Linked DNA regions of Homo sapiens: region 1 is linked to region 2. Evidence: promoter capture Hi-C in 16 types of primary human blood cells and fetal thymus (Javierre and others, 2016). All regions are on one chromosome and are shown on one strand. Each heading gives the region's core, a stretch centred on a gene start or on the middle of the fragment in contact. The rest is flanking DNA. Distances are from core to core; before and after follow the strand shown. Region 1 holds the start of RBM44 (RNA binding motif protein 44). Region 2 holds the start of KLHL30 (kelch like family member 30).

What was found. Contacts are between HindIII fragments. The CHiCAGO score rates a contact against its expected background, and 5 or more counts as called.
Region 1: the fragment with the promoter of RBM44 here is called in contact with the fragment with the promoter of KLHL30 in region 2 in 1 of 17 cell types (erythroblasts); the score reaches 5.1 in erythroblasts.

The regions. Positions count from the first base shown.
Region 1 is chr2:237,794,773-237,800,237 of GRCh38, reverse strand. RBM44 (RNA binding motif protein 44) reads right to left here and starts at 1,459. Exons shown (of 16, transcript NM_001080504.3): 1 at 1,377-1,459. The HindIII fragment of the contact is 5,628 bases long and covers 1-5,401 here.
Region 2 is chr2:238,135,021-238,140,704 of GRCh38, reverse strand. It overlaps KLHL30 (kelch like family member 30), which reads right to left and starts at 2,037. Exons shown (of 8, transcript NM_198582.4): 1 at 1,947-2,037; 2 at 1-20. The HindIII fragment of the contact is 29,351 bases long and covers 1-5,684 here.

The DNA of each region.
Region 1 (5,465 bases), core at 210-2,709, 340 kb after region 2:
CTCAATTTATCAAGAGTCATGAAGGAAATGCAAATCAAAACCAAAAGATATCACTTCACACCCACTAGGATGACAATAACAATAACAGTAACAACAGTGTTGAGCAGGTCATGGAGAAATCAGAACCTTCATCCATTGCCGATGGGAATGTAACATGGTGCAGCCACTCTGGAGAAGTCTGGCACTTCCTCAGAAAGTTAAACACAAGACAACCACATGATCCAGCAATTCCACTCCTAGGTACATGCCCATTTTTATTATTTTCTTTGAGTTCTCACTTACCGAACTATTTCCTCCAGTGCACGAAACTCCAGGGAATGGTATCGCCAGAAACCACAGGACTCGCCCTTGACACCTCCCTTATCCCTGAGGTCTTGTCAATTTTAACTCCTGACTCTCACAGCTATGCAGACAATCACCTCACATCTGGCCAGAATAATCTTTCTAAAATGCTTATCGAATCAGTTACGCTCCTGCTTAAAACTCAGCAACGGACTGTCACTGTTTTCAGACAGATTAAAATCTGAATAAGTCCTGTAAAACCCTACAACGGTCCGGGCTCTGTGTTAGCCTTGGCACTTGGTGTCTTCCAGATACACCCTCCTTTCCATTTCCTTAAAAAGTCAGGCCCTGGCCGGGCGCGGTGGCTCACGCCTGTAATCCCAGCACTCTGGAAGGCTGAGGCGGGATGATCACGAGGTCAGGAGATAGAGACCGAGATCGAGACCATCCCGGCTAACACGTTGAAACCCCGTCTCTACTAAAAAAATGCAAAAAGTCAGGCCCTGTGCGTTCTCTCGCCTGCCCACCCCCTACCCCACCTTGAGTTCACGCTCAACTTCAGATCTCATCTTAAATACGCGCTTCTTAGGGAAACCGTCCGGGCACCTCACACTAGGTCAGGAGCTGGCGCCGTCCTCCAGGGCGTCCTACGCGTCGGTCAGGGGCACACACGCCTGAGTACGGAACGAACTTCACGTCCCCCTCTCGCTAGAGTCCCCGCCCCGCAGCAGAGGCTCCATCAGTCTCCACGGCAAGAAGAAGCATATGTGCGAATTTCTAGCTTTCCCCGGGGACATAACCAAGTTTGGGAGACCGGCCCCGCGACTTCGTTCGAGAACGACTTTTGCGGTGTCGGCGCCCGCTATGAGGGCGCCGGAACTCCAGTGCCGCCCAAGGAACGCGCCAGTCCCCCGCCCGCCTCGCTGGCCTCGCCTACACCGCCGTTCGGAGTCCCCGCGTGCTTCAGCGGGACGGGCCTCGCCGCCGGGACCGGCCACACGCGGGGTTCGCCAACCCCGACCGCTCAAGCCCATGGCCTCGCCCTCGCCGGCTTCGCCGCCCGACCTGCCGCCCCGCGTCTCTGTCCGTCGCACCTCGGATCCGCTAGAAAGCCGCCGCCGCTGCCGCCTCCACGGGCCAGCGCCCCGCTCTCCGCAGCCGCCTCCGAGTCAGTGGCGCCACCGGAGCAGCCGCGGCGCCTGTTGGGTAACAGTCACCAGCGGCCCGCCCACCGCCTGTCGGGCAGTATGAAAAGTGCGGCACTGTGATTGGCCCAGCCTGTGGGCGCGAAAGCGCGGGAAGGAGGCCGCCTGCTTGAATGTTGCACGACGTAGAAGAGATTGTGGGCGTCTGTCTTGGAGCGCAGAGCGGCCCCCAAGACTTTCCCGCTTTGCAGCCTGAAACCCTCGTCTGGACCGCGCAGCTCTGCAAAGTCACCATATGAAAATACTTGGAAGCGCTGCTTCTGCCAGCAGAGGCCAGACTGCCCCTCGCTTGGGTCCGGTGCAGGCCGAGTCCTCCGCCCTCAGAGGCGGGACAGGGGCCCGGCCTCCTTGCCGAACTGTTTCCCAGGCCGCGTGGTCCCTCCCGGGGTTTGGCTTGTCCTCTGCCCATCTTCTAGAAATACCGTTAGCAGGGTCGGGCCGCGACTAGGGTGAGGCCAGTGAGGCATTTGTCATGAGCACAGGATTTCAGAGGCTGCCAAAATAGCAATCAAGATAAATAATATTTTAATGCAGTCTCTAAAAAAAGTCAAAAGTAATGAAAAAATTCAGTCCTATTTTTTCCTTTCGCCTCAGACTCTTAAAATGGCTCCACAGGGTACATTGTTACTGGTCCTGTCTTTATTTAAAATTTGAATATTCTGGGCTGGGCGCGGTGGCTCACGCCTGTAATCCCAGCAGTTTAGGAGGCCAAGGCAGGTGGATCACCTGAGGTCAGGAGTTCGAAACCAGCCTGGCCAACATGGCGAAACCTCGTCTCTACTAAAAACACAAAAAATAGCCGGGCAGGTGTGGTCGTGGACGCCTGTGATCCCAGCTACTCGGGAGGCTGAGGCAGGAGAGTCGCTTGGATCCAGGAGGCGGAGGTTGCAGTGAGCTGAGATCACCCTGTTGCACTCCAGCCTGGATGATGACAGAGCAAGACTCCGTCTCAAAATAAATAAATTAAATTAAATTAAATTTGAATATTTTATTATGGATTTTTTGCATTAATTTCGATTTTTTAAAAGATTGCATTAAAAGATTACTGAGTTTTTGCATCCCCTCCCCTGCCCCCCATGTTTTGTGCCTAGTCTTATCCTTGATAGGGAATTTAAACCTGTATAAAATGACACAGTCCTGAAGGGGTGGGGACAGGATAGAGCTGCAGGTGGCTTCATTTGCTTATTAGTCTAAACATGCACTTGATTGTTGGGCCACGGAGGACTTTGGATAGGTGGCAGATAGAGGAGGGGCTCTAAAACTGCACCTACCCCCAAATTATCCCCTCAAATGAGGCTGCAGTCTCTGAAATGCACTTCATTCATTCATTCATTCATTCATTCTGCAGATTGCTATTGGCCTGCCAGGGGCCAGGGGCTGAGGGTGCAGTGGTGGACAGTGGACCGTGAGCATGGATCTTGGGATAATGTAATACACTTATCGCAAATCTTGCCATTACCAAAAGTGCTTTCAAGTGTCTTTTAAAGTGATATGGCCTGTCCTTTTACAGTGGATTTCATTTAGAAGTCCCTATGTTATTGGAAGTTAACGCCAGTGGCTGGAGAGGGCGGCCACGGCAGCAGCAGGCCAGAGCTGCTGATGAGATTATGAGGTCTGGCCTCTGTTATAGAAAGGGGTTCAGATTGAGGCTCACATTAGAAGGCTGGACACTCTCCCCTGGGCTGCTGGGCAGATGGCATCTGGAGCAGGACTGGGCCATGGTGACCCTGGAAGGGGTGGCTCTGGAAGTGTGTCTGTGGGCCAGCAGCCCTGATGTCAAGACAGCTGGAAACCACGTTCTACTCTAGACCCTTGGCGTTTCTCCTTTGACTGCTCCACCACAGTTAGAATTTTGAGAAATTCCTCTCTGAACAGCCATTTGCCAAATGCTCATTTCACTGTTAGTCTCCTCTCCACCCTGTGGGTGGGTACAACACAGAAAGAGTCAAATCTTTCATTTATCAACCTTTTAAACCATCGAAGACAGTGATCATGCCATCCTTAGGGAGGATTATTGGGATTCAGGGAATAGAGATGAAATGTTGTGTTATGAGTGGATGGGCTGAGCACAGACATCACATGTGTCACCAGGCTACAGAAAAGGTAAGCTGTGCCGGACAGTGATGCTGTGCTTACAGGCAAGCCACTGAGCAGGTGGCAGGAGGGGCTGCCGGTTGTTGGCAGGGAGGCGGGTTGAAGGGCAAATGGGCTGTTTGCATGAGACACACCAAGCCTCCTGCTACGGCAAGGGGAAGAAACATTCCCACTTAAGTGACCTCAGCTGTTTTTGTTTAACTGTGGGATCCAGTGTCCTTGTTTTGCCTTCCTCTGGGCCCTTTGAGGTGTTTTGTTTTGTTTTGTTTTGTTTTCGAGACAGCCTTGTTCTGTTGCCCAGGCTGGAGTGCAGTGGCACAATCTCGGATCAATGCAGCCTCCACCTCCCCAGTTCAAGCGATTCTCCTGCCTCAGCCTTCCAGTAGCTGGGATTACAGGTGCCTGCCACCACGCTCAGCTAATTTTTGTATTTTTAGTGGAGATGGGGGTTCCACCATGTTGGCCAGGCTGGTCTCGAACTCCTGACCTCAAGTGATCCACCCGCTTCGGCCTCCCAAAGTGCTGGGATTACTGGCTTGAGCCACCGCGCCTGGCCTCTTTGAGTTTTTTTTGACACTGTCTCCAGATACTCCCCATTGGCCCTAGGGCATGGGACCCTTGCTCTTCTTGGTCAGAGTTTCCTGTGTCTGTGTATGGAGCTAGTGGTTCTGCCTTTTCTGCCAGGCAGCTCTGCCACGTTTGGACTTACGTAATTGATTTGGGGATTATATTGTTTTGATGTGAAATTTTACATTTTTATGAAATCCATCAGTCTCTTGGCTGGGCGGGGTGGCTCACGCCTGTAATCCCAGCACTTTGGGAGGCTGAGGCGGGTGGGTCACGAGGTCAGGAGATTGAGAGCATCCTGGCTAACATGGTGAAACCCCGTCTCTACTAAAAAATACAAAAAATTAGCCGGGCGTGGTGGCGGGCGCCTGTAATCCCAGCTACTCGGGAGGCTGAGGCAGGAGAATGGCGTGAACTCGGGAGGCGGAGCTTGCAGTGAGCCGAGACCGTGCCACTGCACTCCAGCCTGGGCGACAGAGCGAGACTCCGTCTCAAAAAAAAAAAAAAAAGAAATCCATCCGTCTCTTTGTCATTTATTTTCAGTGATATTAGAGATGCTTACTCCAGCTCAAGTTCAGAATAAACATATTCGTACAATAGTATTTTCTGTTGTTTTTGTTTTTGTTTTTAGACATGGTCTCACTCTGTCACCCAGGCTGGAGTGCAGTGGCACGATCTCGGCTCACTGCAACCTCCGTCTCCTGGGTTCAAGCCATTCTCCTGCCTCAGCCTCCCGAGTAGCTGGGATTACAGTTTTGCACTACCGCACCCAGCTACCATTTTTTAGAGATGGGGTTTTGCCATGTTGGCCAGGCTAGTCTCGAACTCCTGACCTCAAGTGATCTGCCCGCTTTGGCCTCCCAAAGTGCTGGGATTACAAGCGTAAGCCACCATGCCCAGCCACACAATAACTTTGATTTGTGCCTTTTATGATTTGATTTTTTACACTTTTTTTTGCTTATAACTTTGAAATATTTAATGTTATTAAAGTCACATGTGTTTAATGTAGAAAATGCAGGAAAGGGTGAAAAAGAAAATAGAAATCTCCTATAATCCCGTTTCTCACAGAGCCTCACTGTGGGTGTTTTCGGGGAGCTATCTATAGAGAGAAACCATGGAGCTACTCTCCCACATGGACTGTGATGCCTTTCTACATTTTTAACCTCTCTATTCAGGAGCCGTTAAAATTTTTTATTCCGCAAACACCTACTGAGGTCTTGCTCTGCATTAGGCAGGCCATGGAATGAAAAGCTTACAGCAGTTCTTGAAGAACGTACAGTATAACTGATACCACACAACTTAGTGGGGGCTAACACG
Region 2 (5,684 bases), core at 788-3,287:
GCCTGGAGCCGCCCGAGCTCCTAGGAGAGAAGAGAGCAGGGTCAGCCAAGTGGGGATGGTCTCATCCTCCTGAGCAACCCACCCGGTCTGTCCATCAGCCCTTTCCACCCCTTGATAAACACAGGATGGGCATCGACCATATGCCAGTCACTTTACCCCCCATCTGCCTCAAGCCACCCCCAGAACCCTGCAAGGTAGGGCAGGTGTCATTCCCATTTGCAGTGAGGAAATTGAGGTTCAGAGAGGGTGGGAGACCTACCCATGGCCAGGCATTCAGGGCAGAACAGGGTTGGCAAAAGAACCCATGCCCTGGGTGTCATCTGCAACCCTGGGCTACACTGAGCCCACCCCCCAGGGACCCCGGAGACACCCAAACTCCCGGGAGGCGTCCTCCGTCCCAGATCCCACATTGCTGGGGAGGCCATTTGGGGGCTGCAGCAGCTCCTGCTCCCGCGGTGCTCCCAGGTGCCAGGCCACGTGCCAAGCATGCAGAGAAGCTGTGCATTCACCACTCAGCCCCACAACAGTCCTGGAGGGTGGGTGCAATCATTGCCTCTTTTACAGCTGGGGAGACTGAGGCACAGAAGGTTTCAGTCACTTGCCCAAGATCACACATTTAGGAAGTGGTGGAGCTGGAATTTGAACTCAGAGCTAGGCTTGGGGGCCCAGGCTCTGAACCCTGCATTCCACGTGGCCGGGTGGAGGCTGCTAAACAGAAACGGCCAGCCAAAGGCAGCGTTCTGGAGGGTTTCGCGTCACCACGCCCGCATGGTTGAAGTCAGCAAGGCCGCTTTCAGGCTCATGTAATTATGTGCATGTGGTTTATGTCCTTCTGGTATCGCACCCTAAGACAACCATCCCTAGGAGAGATCAAGTCTGTGCACAAGCCTTCGACCCGGGTCACCCCAGGGCGAAAGGCTGCGCAGCGGAGAGGCCGTTCGCCCGCTAGGGGGCGCCTCGCGGGGCCATCCCGGGCAGGAGAGGCGGCCGCGCGTCCACAGGTACAAAATGCGTGGGAACGCCACGCATGGAAATGACAAAGCTCAGCTGGAGAACCAGGAGGCCAAGAATCTGGCCCGGGCAGCCACGGTGCAGGTACAGGTGCAGGCGATGGGAGCTAGGGCTCCCCGACTTCCCGACCCCGGTGCCACCTCTTGACCCCAGAGCGGGGAAGCACCTGGGAGCCCACAGGGCCTCGCGGACCAACCCGGGCTCGCGCACAGGGCAGCTCACGTGGCCGGGGCCCCACACCCCAGCATCCCGGCCGGTACACGAAGTACCCACCCAACACTGCATGCATGGGGTTCCTGCCTGGCCCCTCCCCAGGAGGCGCTGGCCCCGGTGAAGGCGGCTCTGCCCTCCCTGGGCAGCCGGGAGATGAGCTGGGGCCTGAGTAGGTGACAGGGCTGTCCCTGGGCCACCGCCTGCAGGCCTCACATTCCCGTCATTGTTGTGCTCCCTTGGGCCAGCTGCTGCCGGGCGATGGGCAGGCACGCATGAGCGCCCCCACTTCCCCTGGGGGCCTCGGGGTGCCTGCTGACACCTGTCACCCTGCAGTCCCTGCATGGGTCGGGGCTTCCTGAGGGTCTCAGAGCCTCACCCCAGTGCCTGCCCAGGCCCGGAGTGAGGAAGCCGAGTGGGCAGGACAACAAAAGGCCTGAGCCCAGCCAGGCTGGCGACTGTGGCTGAGTGGCCCTGGCTGCCATCTGAGGGGTGGCCCAGCCTCCCCCTCCCACCTCTCCGGCTGGGACATGGAGGGAAACCTGTCTCCTGAGCCCCCACCCTGAGGAGCCTGGCTTGGCCGCTGGCAAGGGCCAGGGGGCGTCTCCAAAGCACCCTGCTGTGATCCCTGGCCTCGGGGGCCTAACCCACCCTCCCCGCTGCTCCTGGCTGGGTTCCCCCTGCCCTCTCTGCTGTCCCCTGCCCCAGAGCCCCCTGGATCCTACCTCTCACTCAGCCTGGACCTCGAAGCTGAGAACACAGACCCGAGAGAGCAGGACTGCCTAGCCGGCAGCCAGGGGACACGGAGGCCTGCAGGGCGGGGCAGGGCTGGTCTGGTGGCCACGTGGGGAGGGTATTTTTAGCCTCTGTCTGCAGGGCGAGGGGAGGGTCAGGCAGTGAGGGCTGGGCTGGTGGGGGAAGGAGTGAGATGCCGGCTCCTTGGTGACTGTTAGCTCAGAAAGCCCACTGAGGCCTTCCAGGGACTTGTGGCCTAGGACAGACATCAGGAAGGGCTCCAGGGCAAGGACAGGTGAAAGCTGTCGCGGTTGGGCTGGCTGGTGGGGGCAGGGATGCAGCTTCCCCACCTGTTTCCTCGTCTACAAGTTGAGTACAGTGGAGCCCGTGGTGGGGGCCTGGGGTCACAGAGACCCTCAGCCCAGGGCCAGGACACCGACAGGTGCTGCCCTCGCTGTTGATGTCAGCGGCACCTATGTGTCCTCTTGTTCTGTTGTCACGTGGGAAAACGTGATTATCATGAATAAGCACAGGTTGGTCAGCAGAGGCTTTCCGAGCTTGGGGTCCATGGTGGCGGTAGGGAAACTTTGCCCAGAGAGGGGAGGTGCCACACTCAGTTGCCCCGCCCAGCTAGCGTGGATAGGGGAGATCTTGGGGCTCCTTGCCCTGCTACCCCATGGCCTTGGCCTCGGGGCTGCCCAGGACGGCTAAGAAACAGGGTCACCTAAAAATACAGCAGTGGACTATCAGCCTCCCGTCCAGCACTTGGTTCACGGTAGTCGCAGGGGGAAGCTCTCACGCCTGGGACTGAAATGGGCTCAGAACCACAGGCCCTGACCAAGGTCAGGTGGGTTGAGTTGGGGACCCAAGAGGCCACTGGACATTTCTCACACCAGTGACCAGAGCAGAGCTTTGTGGCTGAGGGACTTCAGGTGCATGGGAGAGAAGCCCTCAGCCCTCAGCCCTCTACCCATCGGCCATGTGGGCCTGAGCAGTATGACCATTTCCAGGTGTGCTGCGACCTGGAGGAACTGGGGAGTATTGGGTCTGGCTGTGGCCTCTTGATGCTACTAGGGATTGTCCTAATGCTCTTACAGACCAGAGAGGTCCAGGCGGCCCCCAGGGAGACAGAACCCCACTCCTGGTCCTGAGATGCACACAGCCTATGGAGGGGAAGCTCACCTACAAATTACTGCCAAGTCTGCAAGGTGCCCTTAGGGTTACCTTCCATAGAGATTCCCTGAGTCCATGCTTCCTCTACAGCCCAGCCTGGCCCAGCCATAGCCCAGCCATAGCTCAGCCCAGCTCAGCTATTGCCCAACCATAGCCCAGCCATAGCCCAGCCCAGCTCAGCTATTGCCCAACCATAGCCCAGCCATAGCCCAGTCCAGCTCAGCTATTGCCCAACCATAGCCCAGCCATAGCCCAGTCCAGCTCAGCTATTGCCCAGCCATAGCCCAGCCATAGCCCAGCCCAGCTCAGCCATAGTCCAGCCGTAGCCCAGCCGTAGCCCAGCCCAGCCTGGCCCCTGCTCCTGCTCTTTCCCCTGCTCGTGTCCCACACTGTCCCAGGGTTTTTCCCCAGCCTTGGGCATCAGCCTCATGTTGTGTGGGGGACCCTCATGGAGGACCCCAACTCTCGCTGTGTCCAGGACCACTATGGGGTGGGCGCTAGAGTGTTGGGTTTCCGTACTGTCCCCCTTGTTTGCAGTCCTGGCTCGGGCTGGAGGAAATGAGGACAGGGGATTCTGATGACAGGCTGCTGTCACGGGGAGCTGGCTCTGCTCGGGGAACAGCACTGCTTGCCAAGTGTGGAGGCCTCACAGCAGCCGTCGTGGGGCTCGGAGCCCCAGCACCTCAGATGACAGGTCAGTCTGGGAAACTCAACACCGGGGGCGCAAAACAGATCCTCCATCAAGAGATTGCTACTGAGTGGCGCAGTTTTTAAAAATACACCACTTGTTTCTTTTTATGAGGATAAAAATAACACAAGTTCCTTTTGGAAAACAGAAAAATAAAAAGCAGAAAGTGTCATTAGTAAAAGATCATTTGCCATTAGTATGCTTCCAGCTCTTTCCTGTTGTCAAAATGAGCCTGCCTGCGTGTGTGGGTCAGCGCCCTTTCCTCACACCTTGTTATATTGTGGGCGTTTCTGATGGGATCAGCACTTGAAGATTTTGAATTTCTGCCGGGCATGGTGGCTCATGCCTGTAATCCCAGCACTTTGGGAGGCTGAGGCGGGTGGATCACCTGAGGTCAGGAGTTTGAGATCAGCCTGGCCGACATAGTGAAACCCCATCTCTACTAAAAACACAACAATTAGCCAGGAGTAGTGGCGGTGCACACCTATAGTCCCAGCCCGCAGACCCTCCCGCCCCAGGCCAGGCTTCCGATGACTGCAGTTGGGCTGAGCACTTCATGGGACCCTCCTGAGACATCCTGAGGTGCAGCCACCCCACACACGTGCTCCCGAGGAGAAACTGAGAGACGATGCGTGTGACCATGCGTGTGTGCTGTTCAAGGACATTGGATTTCAGGCAGTTGACTATGCAGCACTAGGTCACTAGTACAGCAGACAAAAACATGTAAACAGCAGAGCAATGGGGGGCTTCCATCTCAGATACGAAGATGTCATCATTACAGCGTAAAATGCCATCAAACAAGGTGGTTTTGACCCAAGAATAAACAAATCCCAACAGCCAATGCACAGAAAGCGGTGCCACGGCAAGTCCGCAGGGAAGGAGGGGCCGTCTGACGTGTGAGAGTGCTGGTGAAAGGGAAACAAGGTCAGCCCGATGGAACCCAGGCCCCAAATCACCCCAGATGGAGTGAGAGGTGCTGTGCAGGGCTGTAAGGCCCCCGAGAAGGGGGCAGACTGATATGCGGACCCAGCCTGGGACATCCTCACAGCTGGAAGGCCCCCAGCCCAGCAGAGGGGAGCTCACTCACACAGTTTTTTGTTTGTTTGTTTGTTTGTCTCTTTGGAGATGGAGTCTCGCTTTATCACCCAGGTTGGAGTGCAGTGGTGCAATCTCCGCTCACGGCAACCTCCGCCTCCTGGGTTCAAGCGATTCTCCTGCCTCAGCCTCCTGAGTAGCTGGGATTACAGGTATGCACCACCATGCCCAGCTAATTTTTCTGTATTCTTAGTAGGGATGGGGTTTCACCATGTTGGCCAGGATGGTCTCCTGACCTCAAGTGATCTGCCTGCCTTGGCCTCCCAGAGTGCTGGGATTACAGGCGTGAGCCACTGCACCCGGCCTTACAGATTTTAACTCGGTGATTTCACGCTCGGAATCCATTCTGAGGGAATAATCACACAGGTGACACCACCTTCATTGTAATAGTCCCAAATGGAAAACAGCCTGAGCGTCCACGAACAGAAGGAGGTTATCACTCCCAGCTTCACAAAGAGCAACGTCATCCTATTGAGATGAAATTGAAAATCTTTTTTGTTTTTGAGACAGAGTCTTGCTCTGTCACCCAGGCTGGAGTGCAGTGGCATGAGCTCGGCTCACTACAACCTCTGCCTCCCAGGTTCGAGCAATTCTGCCTCAGCTTCCCGAGTAGCTGGGATTACAGGTGCCCGCCACCACGCCCAGCTAATTTTTGTGTTTTTAGTAGAGACGGGGTTTCACCATGTCGGCGAGGATGATCTTGATCTCTTGACCTCGTGATCCACCTGCCTCAGCCTCCCAAAGTGCTGGGATTACAGGCGTGAGCCACCGC